Regions from separate parts of the Homo sapiens genome. Here region 1 is linked to region 2. Evidence: promoter capture Hi-C in human tissues and cell types (Jung and others, 2019). All regions are on one chromosome and are shown on one strand. Each heading gives the region's core, a stretch centred on a gene start or on the middle of the fragment in contact. The rest is flanking DNA. Distances are from core to core; before and after follow the strand shown.

What was found. Contacts are between HindIII fragments. The study calls those that stand out against the background at their distance.
Region 1: a fragment that was not itself captured here is called in contact with the fragment with the promoter of SLC47A2 in region 2 in 4 of the 25 tissues and cell types used here (dorsolateral prefrontal cortex, mesendoderm cells, spleen and 1 more).

What each region holds. Positions count from the first base shown.
Region 1 is chr17:19,678,775-19,684,955 of GRCh38, reverse strand. It overlaps SLC47A2 (solute carrier family 47 member 2), which reads left to right. Exons shown (of 17, transcript NM_001099646.3): 14 at 3,286-3,418; 15 at 3,495-3,589; 16 at 4,917-5,004; 17 at 6,050-6,181. Among named protein-coding and RNA genes, the nearest start is that of ALDH3A2, 33 kb to the right of the region's middle. RefSeq lists an enhancer at 3,605-4,106. The HindIII fragment of the contact is 5,655 bases long and covers 1-4,926 here.
Region 2 is chr17:19,715,097-19,720,995 of GRCh38, reverse strand. SLC47A2 (solute carrier family 47 member 2) reads left to right here and starts at 4,412. Exons shown (of 17, transcript NM_001099646.3): 1 at 4,412-4,563; 2 at 5,779-5,880. The coding sequence starts at 4,441. It overlaps LOC124903948 (a long non-coding RNA gene), which reads right to left. Exons shown (of 2, transcript XR_007065659.1): 1 at 5,761-5,899; 2 at 1-3,622. RefSeq lists enhancers at 3,237-4,084, 4,085-4,934. The HindIII fragment of the contact is 9,747 bases long and covers 1-5,899 here.

The DNA of each region.
Region 1 (6,181 bases), core at 850-3,349, 34 kb after region 2:
GAGAATCACCGGAGCCTGAGGCAGGGAGGTTGCAGTGAACCGAGATCATGGCAGTACAGTCCAGGCTCCGCAAGAGAGGGAGACCGTAGAAAGAGGGAGATGGAGAGCGAGAGCAAGAGCGGGAGGGAGAGGGAGAGGGAGAGGGCGAAAAGTAGTTTTTTTAATAGATGCATGTTTTAGTCTTCTGCTGTTTATTTCAATGATTTCACACTAATCTTTTATCTATTTATTTTTTAACTTTTAATTTTTTTTTTTTTTTTGTAGAAAGAGTCTTGCTATATTGCCCAAGCTGGTCTCTAACTCCTGGCCTCAAGCAGTCCTCCTGCCTTGGCCTCCCAAAGTGCTGGGATTACAGGTGTGAGCCACCATGCCTGGCCCACACTAATCTTTTACATTCTTATCCTTTTACTTCATTTAGGTATAGTTTGTTCTTCTTTACTAGCTTCTTAGGGTAGAATAGTAGGTCATTGATTCGAGACCTTTCTCCCTTTCCAATATAGGCATTTGAAGCTGTACATTTCCCTCTAAGCATTGCCTTAGTTGCATCTAATAAATTTTGATGTTCATCAAAATTTTCAAGTTTGAAATATTTTTAAATTTCTCATGTGATTTATTCTTTGACTTATGGTTTAGAAGTGCATTTAATTTCCAAATATTTGGGGTTTTATTTCTGGCAGGCATCTCTAATTTAATTCTGTTGTGGCCAGAGAACATACTTTGTATGAATTCAGTCTTTCAAAATTTGCCAGGCATGATGGAATGTGCCTGTAGTCCCAGGTACTCAGGAGACTGAGATGAGAGCACTACTTGAGCCTAGGAGTTCAAGACCAGCCAGGGTAACATAGCAAGACTCCATCTCTTAAAAAAGATTGTTTTAAGTTTAGTTTATTGAGATTTGTTTTGTGGCCTACCGCAGGTCTATCCTGGAGAATGCTGCATGTGAGACCCAAGGAATGTCATTGTGTTGGTTAAGTAACTTGCTTAGACTGATTCTGTGACTCCTGTCTCCTCTACAATGTACAGCTGCTGATGTCTCTTGCTCAGTTTTTTCCCCCTTGTTCTTATTTTTTTAAGTCTAGCTTTCTAGTTTAAAATGTTCTTTCTAGGATTAAAAATGTCTGCAGAGCTTAGTGTTCAGCCAATTACTGGTCAGAGACTGTGTTCAACACCTCTGATAGCTAGCAAAGCTTCCATTCTCTGCTGACAGATCCATGTGTGGGCTAGAGACGTATTCAGAGTTCCAGCTGTTTTCAAGTGAGTCCTGGCTTTTACTTTCTTCTGGGTACTACGGGTCTCTTCAGCCCATGTGGACAGGCTCCATTGTCCAGGAACATGTGGGAGGCTTGGTCTCTGCTACACCATATGCACAGCCTCTGGTCAGCTTGGGATATGTAGAGAACTTACCAGTACCTCCCCATTCCCTTGGCTGTTTTACCTCATCAAACTCCCTCTTAAATCCCTGCCTAGTCCACTGGTCGATGGCTTCTCCCAAACAGGCCCACAACCTCAGGCTAGCAAAGCCACTGGCCCTTCCTGCCACTGAAATTGCCACTTTAATTCACAATACTCTAAATCAGAGTTTCTCAACCTCAGCACTACTGGCACTTTAGACCAGATAACTCTTTGTTTGGTGGGGGGAGGGCGGTCCCCTGGGCATTGTAGGATGTTTAGCAGCATCCTTGGTCTCTACCCACTAGATGCTGTAACACTTTCCCCCACCACACCCCCACAGTTGTCACAACAAAAACATCCCAGAATTTGTCATCCCCATTTGAGAAACACTGGTCCAGGGTACATCAATCATAATTTGGGAGAAGTCTTTAGCCAAAAAAGATCATGCCATGACATATAATAACCAGAAATATACATACCATATTACAAAGTTCAAGAGGCATACATCTCCTAACCCCAGTGCATTACCTCTTTGTTCAAATGTGTACAAACCACAAAATACTCCCCACCTCTCACAGGAACAAAATAAAAATAACCAAATATCTATTGGCCAATAATCCTGACCAAGGATGAGCTGTGCCTGTAGTTCAGAAGATCTGGAATCACGTTGGGAAAATGAGACTAATGAAATAAACAGTACTTTTTCCAGAGCAATTCTCATCTTTGAGATGAGACATAATCACAGACAGCAGTGGGTGAGGGCTGCTTGTCTCATATGGAATAAGCTAACAACCACTGTTTGCCATGCATGGTAGGCAAAATAATGGCCCCCAAGTTTCAACGTCCACATCATAATCCCCAGAACCTGTGAGTGTTTCAAGGCAAATGGGACTTTGCAGGTGTGATTAAGAATCTGGAGATAGGGGGATTATCCTGGGTCATCCAAGTGGGCCCAATGTAAATACAAGGGTCCTTAGAAGAGGGAGGCAGGAGAGTCAGAGGAGATGTGAGGCTGGAAGCAGAGGTTAGAGTGATGTGGGGCCACCAGCCAATGAATACAGAAGGAATTCTAGAAGCTAGAAAAAGCAGAGACACATTCTCAACTAGGGCCTTCAGAAGGAACAAGCTCTTGATTTTGGCACAGTGAGACCCAATTCAAACTTCTAACCTCCAGAACTGTAAAATAAAATAATAAATTTGTGTGTGTGTGTGTGTGTGTGTGTGTGTGTGTGTGACCAAGTCTCGCTCTGTCGCCCAGGCTAGAGTGCAGTGGTGCATCCTAGGTTCAAGCAATTCTCGTGCCTTAGCCTCCCAAGTAGCTGGGATTACAGTGCCACCTTGCCTGGCTAATTTTTGTATTTTTAGAGATGGGGTTTCACCATTTTAGCCAGGCTGGTCTTGAACTCCTGACCTCAAGTGATCTGCCCTCCTCAGCCTCCTAAAGTGCTGGGATTACAGGCATGAGCCACCATGCCCGGCCCAAATTTATGTTATTTTAAGCCACAATATTTGCAGTAATTTGCTACAGTAGCCACAGGAAACCAACACACCACCTCTGTATCATGTGAAGTTAGTCCAGTCTCCCAGACCAACTGGTTGCTGGCCACCAATTCTACCTTTACTTTCTAGGGAGGCCATATGGTGTGGCAGTGAAGCCTGAGTACTGTAGGGTTGTGTTCAAAACACAGTTACTTCTGTGTAACATGGACAAGTGATCTGACCTGTCTTGGACAGCCACCCTCAGGGAAGAAAGGGAGATAAGGGCACCCATCCAGTGCTGTGAGAACTCAGTGAAGCAATGCCATGCGAATGGCTTAGCACAGTGCCTGCTGCATGACACCTGCTCTTAGTCTCATCATCCTGACTCTTGCCCATTTCTGTCTCCCCTCCTAGTGTGTCTATGGCGGAGTTCTGAGAGGAACTGGGAAGCAGGCCTTTGGTGCCGCTGTGAATGCCATCACATATTACATCATCGGCCTACCACTGGGCATCCTTCTGACCTTTGTGGTCAGAATGAGAATCATGGGTATGTGGTGTGAGGAAGTCGGGAGAGGCCTGGGTGGTCGTCGGACATTGTTCCCATCATCACTTGTCTCCTCCAGGCCTCTGGCTGGGCATGCTGGCCTGTGTCTTCCTGGCAACTGCTGCCTTTGTTGCTTATACTGCCCGGCTGGACTGGAAGCTTGCTGCAGAGGAGGTAAGTGGGTCAGCTGACCCTGGCCACAAGACACCCTGCACCTGACCCCAGCAGGTGGAGTGACTACTCAGCCAGAAATGCCCAGAGCACATCAGAACTTGGCAGCAGTGTGGTATAAGCTGCAGGTGTTTTTTTTTTTTGTTTGTTTGTTTGTGAGATGGAGTCTCACTCTGTCGCCCAGGCTGGAGTGCAGTGGCGCGATCTCAGCTCACTGCAAGCTCCACTTTCTGGGTACATGCCATTCTCCTGCCTCAGCCTCCCCAGTACCTGGGACTACAGGCACCCGCCACCACGCCCAGCTAATTTTTTGTATTTTTAGTAGAGACGGGGTTTCACCGTGTTAGCCAGGATGGTCTCGATCTCCTGACCTCGTGATCCGCCCACCTTGGCCTCCCAAAGTGCTGGGATTACAGGCGTGCTGCAGGTGTTTTGTGGGGGATTACAGAGGGGCCACCTGAGCCTCAACAGTGGCTCCTGTCACTGTAATTGGCCAGTATAAGAAGCATGCTCTGCAGTTATAAACAGAAACAAAACCAAAAACCTTCCTTAGACAGCCCCATCTGTGGAAAACCAAACAAACGCAAAGAACTCAAACTAGTCTGAACCCAGATGAACCCCCGAGCGTGTGCCTTGACTTTGGAAGGGGTCATAAAATCACCCTGCCCACCATCCTCTTTGATGTCCTTTTTAAACAGGGCAGGGCAGCCTTTGCATCTCAGGCACAGCAAAGGCACAACTCAAGTCTGCAAGCAGAGCACAGAAGCAGTGTTCTCTCAAAGACCCTGAATCCTATCAGGGTGTGGTTTTGCCTTTGTGCACAGAAAAAGTCATCCTGACACTTAAGATGCTGGATAAACAGATATTTAAAATGATACATTTATTTATTTGAGATGGAGTATCGCTCTGTTGCCCAGGATGGAATGCAGTGGTACAATCTCGGCTCAATGCAACCTCTGCCTCCTGGGGTCAAGAGGTTCTCCTGCCTCAGCCTCCTGAGTAGCTGGGACTACAGACATGCGCCACCATGCCCAGCTAATTTTTTAGTATTTTTGGTAGAGACAGGGTTTCACTATATTGCCCAGACTGGCCTTGAATTCCTGAGCTCCAGCAATCCACCCGCCTCGGCCTCCCAAAGTGCTGGGATTACAGGTGTGAGCCACCATGCCCAGCCTTAAAATGATACTTTCTAAAAGCCCCATGACTATGAATACATGCATATATGCTGCTTCAGCTTGCAATGTTTTAAAAACAGAGAATGCGAGGCTAGCAGTGAAGGGGTGAACTGTTGAGCTGGCAGGTTGACCCAATTGAGTTCTTTCTCCTTTAGGCTAAGAAACATTCAGGCCGGCAGCAGCAGCAGAGAGCAGAGAGCACTGCAACCAGACCTGGGCCTGAGAAAGCAGTCCTATCTTCAGGTAATACTGTCACCGCTGCTTCTACTTTGGTACACATATAAATGTCAGTGGCATGTTGCTCTTGTCTGCCCTCTGTGCCTCATGCAATTGGAAATTGTACAAGCCCAAGCTATTTTTCTTCCCATTATTATGAAAATGATGTCCTAAGCACCAGGAAGACAACAACATCTATTGTCTAGCAGGCATGCAAGTACCAGGCCCCACACCAAGTCTTTGGCCTTGAGAGGCAACTAGATGTATGCCCATTTTCAGATGAGGAAGTGAGGCTGAAAGAACTTAGGTATTTCCTCCCTCATCCCACAACTTGTAAAGGCCAGACATAAGATCTGCGCATCAACCCGTCAGATTCAAGAGCCCATGATCTCCCCCACTGAACTCTGCTCAAGACGGAAGGCCAACTTTTAACTTGTGGGGAGCCTGGCTTGTCAGCCAGCCTGGCTTGACTCATTGGCTTTGGGGGGGCACCTGCTATCTACCTCTCTCCACCCCATCAGGCAGACAAACATCTCTCTGGTTTGTGCCCAGTGTCCATGTCATGAAGTGATGGCCCCAGCTCTGCCCCAGGGCTGGTCCTGAGTGCCAGGCGTGTGTGCACATGGCCCAAAGCTCACACAGATGATGTCTCCATGACCTCATCCATCCTGGGCTAATCCTTGATCAGGGCAGTAGTGAGCCAGCTAAAACTCTGGGAGCGTAAGTTGTCATGAGAGAATACGGTAAGACATGATTAATTGTGTTTCCCACGTGCTTTTGAAGCCACAGATCATCACAGGGCCAAGCGTTGACAAGAACACTCCTCATGAGATCCTAGTAGTAAGCATTATCTGCACGTGAAATTCACAGTTTAAGATGCTTTCCTGCATATCTCCTCCTCTGATCTTGCTTGTAAAGTAGATAAAGCAGTTATTTTTCTACTGTATAGGCATCGTCCCTTGTGAGGTGTAACAAACACAGCCAGGTGGTTAACCTAGGTTTCCCGATTCCAAGGCCAAAGCTCTCCCTCTGACCCCTGACCTGCTGAGTTTGCTCCTGTTTGCTTCCGCAGTGGCTACAGGCAGTTCCCCTGGCATTACCTTGACAACGTATTCAAGGTCTGAGTGCCACGTGGACTTCTTCAGGACTCCAGAGGAGGCCCACGCCCTTTCAGCTCCTACCAGCAGACTATCAGTGAAACAGC
Region 2 (5,899 bases), core at 3,163-5,662:
TTGGGCCCAGTGAGGTGTAACCAAGTGAGAAAAGGTTAACAGAGGCCCTGGACCCAGACTGTACTTGGCAGGACTCCAGGAAATTAGTCACGTGAAGGCAGGGCCCAAGGACCTGGCCCTTGCCCCCAGCAGGCTCCGAGCCTGCAGGAGCTGAGCCCTCAAGTGAGGGGGACTTCCTGGCATGCCCACATGCCTCTTGGCTCTGCCTCAGCGAGGCTGCTGGGGCTGGGGGAGCAGCTCCCCCTGGGTCAAGCTTCCTCTTGCTGGCTGGGAGCCTCCCTAATCCCAGGGTGTGTGCTGGGGGCTTGCCAGGACTCTCCACTCCCTTGCCTCTCCCCGTGCCTCCTGCCATTCCTAGGATTTTGTAGCTTTGGGTCCTCCTTCCCCAAAGAGGTCCTCGATATGCGTGAGTCCTCTCATCACTGACCTCAGGGGTCTTTATCTGCTTGCCCTTGCTCGGGGCCAAGTGTGGACAGCGGGTGGCACAAGAGAGAGCAGAAGAGAGAATGGAGAGGGAGGAATAGAAAGGAGGAAGAGGAGAGTGCTGGTTAAAGGCATGGCCTCTCGGCCACTCCCACCTAGAAGTGGAGGCTGTTCCCTCTCCTGTGAAATTTGGGCGAGTCCATGATTAGCTGTGGTCAACAGGATGAGGCAGAGGGGCATGGGGACCTCCCAGGCTGGCTCTTGACCTGTATGCAGCTTCCACTTGCACCATCGAATGTCCTGTCTTCTGTTCCAGCTCCATGCTGAGATGCCCGTGGTGCACGGGGAGGTCACTCCATGCTGAGATGCCCGTGGTGCGTGGGGAGGTCACTCCATGCTGAGATGCCCGTGGTGCACGGGGAGGTCGCTCCATGCTGAGATACCCGTGGTGCATGGGGAGGTCACTCTATGCTGAGATGCCCGTGGTGCGTGGGGAGGTCACTCTATACTGAGATGCCTGTGGTGCGCGGGGAGATCGCTCCATGCTGAGATGCCCATGGTGCGTGGGGAGGTCACTCTATGCTGAGATGTCCATGGTGCGTTGGGAGGTCGCTCCATGCTGAGATGCCTGTGGTGCACGGGGAGGTCACTTTATGCTGAGATGCCCGTGGTGCATGAGGAGGTCCTATGAGGGGAGGTGGAGATGCTCCGACTGACAGTCTCAGCTGATAGCAGGCACCCACCGCGGCCTGGACATGAGCCTGGAAGACTGGCCAGCCTGGGCCAGTCCCCGGTGACTGCAGACACAGCTAGACTAGGGGAGGCAGAAGGACCACCCAACTCGCCGCACAGACTCATGACACAGATGATAATGGTTTTAAGACACCAATTTTGGGGGGGCTGGTAATAGATAAATGAGGCAGGGTGTGTAGCCATGTTTTCACTTTCATAGCATCCCATCCTCTGGGGGGCCCCCTGCCCCACTTCAGGTAGCTCACAGCTTCCCTCCTTCCCACCCTTTCCACCTCCATTCTTGTTCAGGTTGGCTCTTGCCCCAGTCTTCCAGGAATTTGCCTCTGGGACTGAAGGTGTTTGGGCTGAGTCACCTTTCCCTGAATCACCCTGAGAGTCCAGAGTCTCCCTTCTCAAGGCTGGCGGCTCAGCCCTCTTCTGTATCACCTGGCAATAATGATCTCCTCTCCCCCTTCCTCCCTTCTTCCATCTGCTGACATGATCCCAGTTCGTTTCTACTGTTTCCATCAGAGAACGTGGCTGACACGGCAACTGGCATCGGGAGAATGTCATAGGCCATGTGCCCCAGGAAATAAGGGCCTTGGAAACAAGTGATCAGCTGAGAAGGGAAAGGGTCCAGCATCGCCCGGACTTGCTTGTATATTCTAGGGGATTGGCAGCCCTGTTCCTGAGAGTGAGCTGCTGATCCGTCTGTTGTGTGCAGTATCTGAGACCACAGAAGATGCAGGACTGAAGGGTGGCATGTTGCTCCTGACAGCATTGGAAGCTCTGGAGAGAGGGCAGAGGCTGAAGTCTCGGAGGCTCCCCCCGCCCCAGCCACAGGATGGCGCACAGGGGCCATGTGCAGCTCCGCTCAAAGTATCTCAGGTTCCGGGGCAGAATCCTGGAAAACCCAACTCGGAGCTGAGTCTGCAGGTGGCTGCAGGGCGGTGCTGCTGAGTCTGCAGTTACCACCACAAAAGGAGGGCCTGAAGGCATTGCCAGGAGACTATGGAGGACTCACGGAGCTCTGACACCCCTCACCTGGAGGAGGTGGCTTCCCCCCACCCCCCACTCTGCCTGCACCACCTTTGCCTGGGGCGGCCAATGCATGGCAGTGGAGTCAGTAATCGCCCTTGCTCCTCCCCAGGGTCAAACCCACTGGGGTCTGGGGATTGAAATTCTGAGAGGAGTGTAGGAGGAGAGTGTCTTCCCGAAGAAAATGTAGGAATGCATTGGCTTCTATCACAAAAATCCTGGGAATGTTCCTGAGAAGGGATTTTGGAGATGCTCGGCCTAGGACTGGCCCTCGGGAAGATGACCCGACCTTTGTCCTGTGCAGCTGAGTGCTGAACACTGGTCAGCTCTGGATAAAGCCTGATGTCACCGAGCTGATGGCGGGGCGTCTGCACTGAACACCTTCCAGCTTGGTGGGGGCACGGGAACCAGCTGTCCTCATTAAAAGTGACCTGGAGTGAGATGGATTCTTCTGCCTATACCTCCACGTGTGGGCTCCCTGAACACCCCCATCGCCATGGGCTCCCAAGAAGTATTGCTTCTGGCTGCAGGGCTCACTGCAATGCTGCGACAGGAGGTGACAGGCCAAGGCCAGCAGGTGACTGCTCTCCCCAGAGGCCCTGTCAGCTGGAAGCAGCTGGTTTCACATAACAGAGACCCCAGGCCCAGGTCCCCTGGATGCAGGAGGATTTGCGGCTGCCCTTTTGGAAGAGGTAGGCTGACCATGAGAACTGGCCAAAGGTGAGAAGGACGTGGAGAAGGTGTTGGAGGAGGGAAGTCAGACATACTAGCAATAGCCTGGCCTGCAGGGCTGTAGCTTTCACCTGTACTTCCTCCTGTTTGGTGTCATCATCACAATCACGATGGTGATAAAATGTCTTCTTTCCTCTAGGCAGGTGGTAAAGGTACTATTTGGTGCACAGGTTGGAGAGTGCTGTGATAAGAACCATCAGAACAAGGGCAGGAATGTGACCTCCCAGGTGATCCTGGGAGGATCCAGTGGAGCGTTTCAGAATTCTGTGTCAAAAAAGAAGGCTGCGTGTTGACTGGGGTGGGGCTGTGCCTGTGTTTGGGGCCGCCCATGGGTGTAGCAAACCCTTTTTTTTTTTTTGTATTTGTCCTGCCTCCTCTCCTTCAGGGTCTGCTCCTTCCTCCTCGCGGCTCTGGGGGCTGCATCTCGGAATCCTGCCGGCCACTCCTCCGCTGCAGGGGTGGACATGGGAACCAAGTGGGGCCTTTGGGATGTCTTCAGCCCTCCCACAGCCACTGGCCAGCCTGCCTGCTGTCTTCCTGCCCCCCTCGCTCACTCCTCCTTCTCCTGGGCTGAACCACACCCAAAAGCTTGATCCAGGACTGGGCTAGGTGACCGGTGCAATCCTTAGATGCCTCTCTTGGTTCCCACTGCCCTGCTGGTCTTGAGGCAGGTTGAGGGGGGAGTCACAGGCCATCCCTGCAAGGAAAAGCAGAGAGGGCAATTTGGGAAGGTGACAGAGGACCCTGTGGGACGTCGAGTCACAGCCTTGCTGGGCACAGTGACTGGCGTGCATAGTGAGCTGCTTTCCCAAGCACTGCCACCCCTGGCTCTCAGATATGCTGCTGAAAGGGGTGACGGGCAGTGGGGGGCTTGGGACTCCGCCGAGGTGTCCTAGCTCCCATCCCTATCCCCAGGCCCAGGCCCAGGCCCCTCCAGCATGAAAGGCTAGGGACCGCACTGCCATGGGGTTTGCCAGGCCCCTGTCTCTTGGGAAGCCACCCCTCCCAGGGAAAAGCAGGGCTGAGGGCTGTTCAGGCTCTGCCACCACCTGCTCTGTGACTTCGGGCAGGCCACCAATTCTTCTGAAAAACGGGAGTCACTGTGGGCACCATCACGCCCGGGTACAGGACGCCCAGTGGCTCAGCTGCCCCAGCCAGGCTGCCCTGTCCTGGCCTCAGCACACCTCCCACAGCCACTGCAGGCAGCCCTGGACCTTCTCCTGCTGAGGCCTTACTGCCAATCCCTCTGGGAGACCAGACACAACAGGCAGCGGTCTGGGTGACTCCCAGGAACCTGTCCTCCCTAGTGGCTGAGGCAGTAGGCTTGGCAGCAGGGACTCAGTGCCCTAGGAGGCAGGGCTCATCCCACAAGTTGCCATGGTAGCCCCTCCTCCTGCCCCTTACTCATCAGCCAGGCTGTACCGACACGGGCTGCCCAGGCAGGGGGTGGCTCGCTGGACAAAGCTGGCCGTGCAGGCGCTCAGGCGTGCAGGGTAGCCAGTGCCCCGGCCAGGAATGGACAGCCTCCAGGACACAGTGGCCCTGGACCATGGGGGCTGCTGCCCTGCCCTCAGCAGGCTGGTTCCCAGAGGCTTTGGGACTGAGATGTGGACTCTCTTTGCCCTTTCTGGACCCCTGGTAAGGAGGAGGAGCTGGGGGGCAGGTAGGGAGTGGAGGAAGCTGAGAGGCTGAGGGTGTCTGCCTTGCAGGCAGGATCCAGAAATGTGCTCACATTTTCCCCAGAAACTGCCCATGTTGACTGCCAGGTCCAGAGTCTGGGGACAGCAGGATGGCTCCTGAAAGCTGTCTCTGGACAATCCCCAGTGGCAGTGGGGCCTGACTTTGCTCAGCAGCAGGCAGCCCCCACACAGAAGGGGTGGGTGTGCCTCAGCTGGAAACCCACAAAAGCCTGAGTTGGAAGATGGCTCCAGGACAAATGGGACCCAGAGATGCATGAAGCCTGCAGCACCTTCGCAGGGGGAAGAAGGGGCCGGCTACCCATTTCATTTCCAAAGGGGAAATTGTTTTAAATACATTTATTTTTTCTGATCATGAAGAGGAATAGGCTGGGCGTGCTGCCTCACGCCTGTTATCTCAGCACTTTGGGAGGCCGAGCAGGGAGGATCACCTGAGGTCAGGAGTTGGAGACCAGCCCGGCCAACATGGAGAACCCCCCGACTCTACTAAAAATACAAAAATTAACCAGGCATGGTGGCGGGCGCCTGTAATTCCAGCTACTTGGGAGAGAGAGGCAGAGAATCGCTTGAACCCGGGACGGGTAGGTTGCAGTGAGCCGAGATCGCGCCACTGCACTCCAGCCTGGGCAACAAGGGCGAAACTCCGTCTCAAAAAAAAAAAAAAAAACAAAAAAAACAAAACCAAAAAGGAGTAATGGAATTGCACTTCCTGTAAAACTTTTAGAAAAAAATGAAAGATATAAAGAAGAAAGAAATTTAACTCAAATCCTAGTACTTGGAAATAGCCATTACTAAGATTTTGGTGTATTTAATTCCCCTCCTTTTTTGGGGGTGTGCGGCCTGACCAAATTATTGTTATAATAGGAACTGCAATAGCAGTATCAGACACTTGGGTCAAGCTCAGGGCGCCAGGCACTGCGCTGCGCCAGGCACTGACCCTTCTGGGTAGGGACGTGGAGGCCAGGCGTGACTGCAGCTGCAGAACGCAGAATGGGAGCTGGGCTAGGTCATCCGACCTCCAGCCCTGGCTTCCCCAGGCGTAGGTGACCTCTCGGGGCACTGGTGCGGGGCCCTCAAAGCTGGAGAGGCCTGTCTTGCAGGGCTCGGCTGTGTGGGCACCTGTGGCCCCGAGTCTGACCTGGCCGCTGTCCTCCAGTTCCTGTTCCAGGTGCTGACTTTTATGATCTACATCGTGAGCACTGTGTTCTGCGGGCACCTGGGCAAGGTGGAGCTGGCATCGGTGACCCTCGCGGTGGCCGTGAGTACCCAGCTTGGCC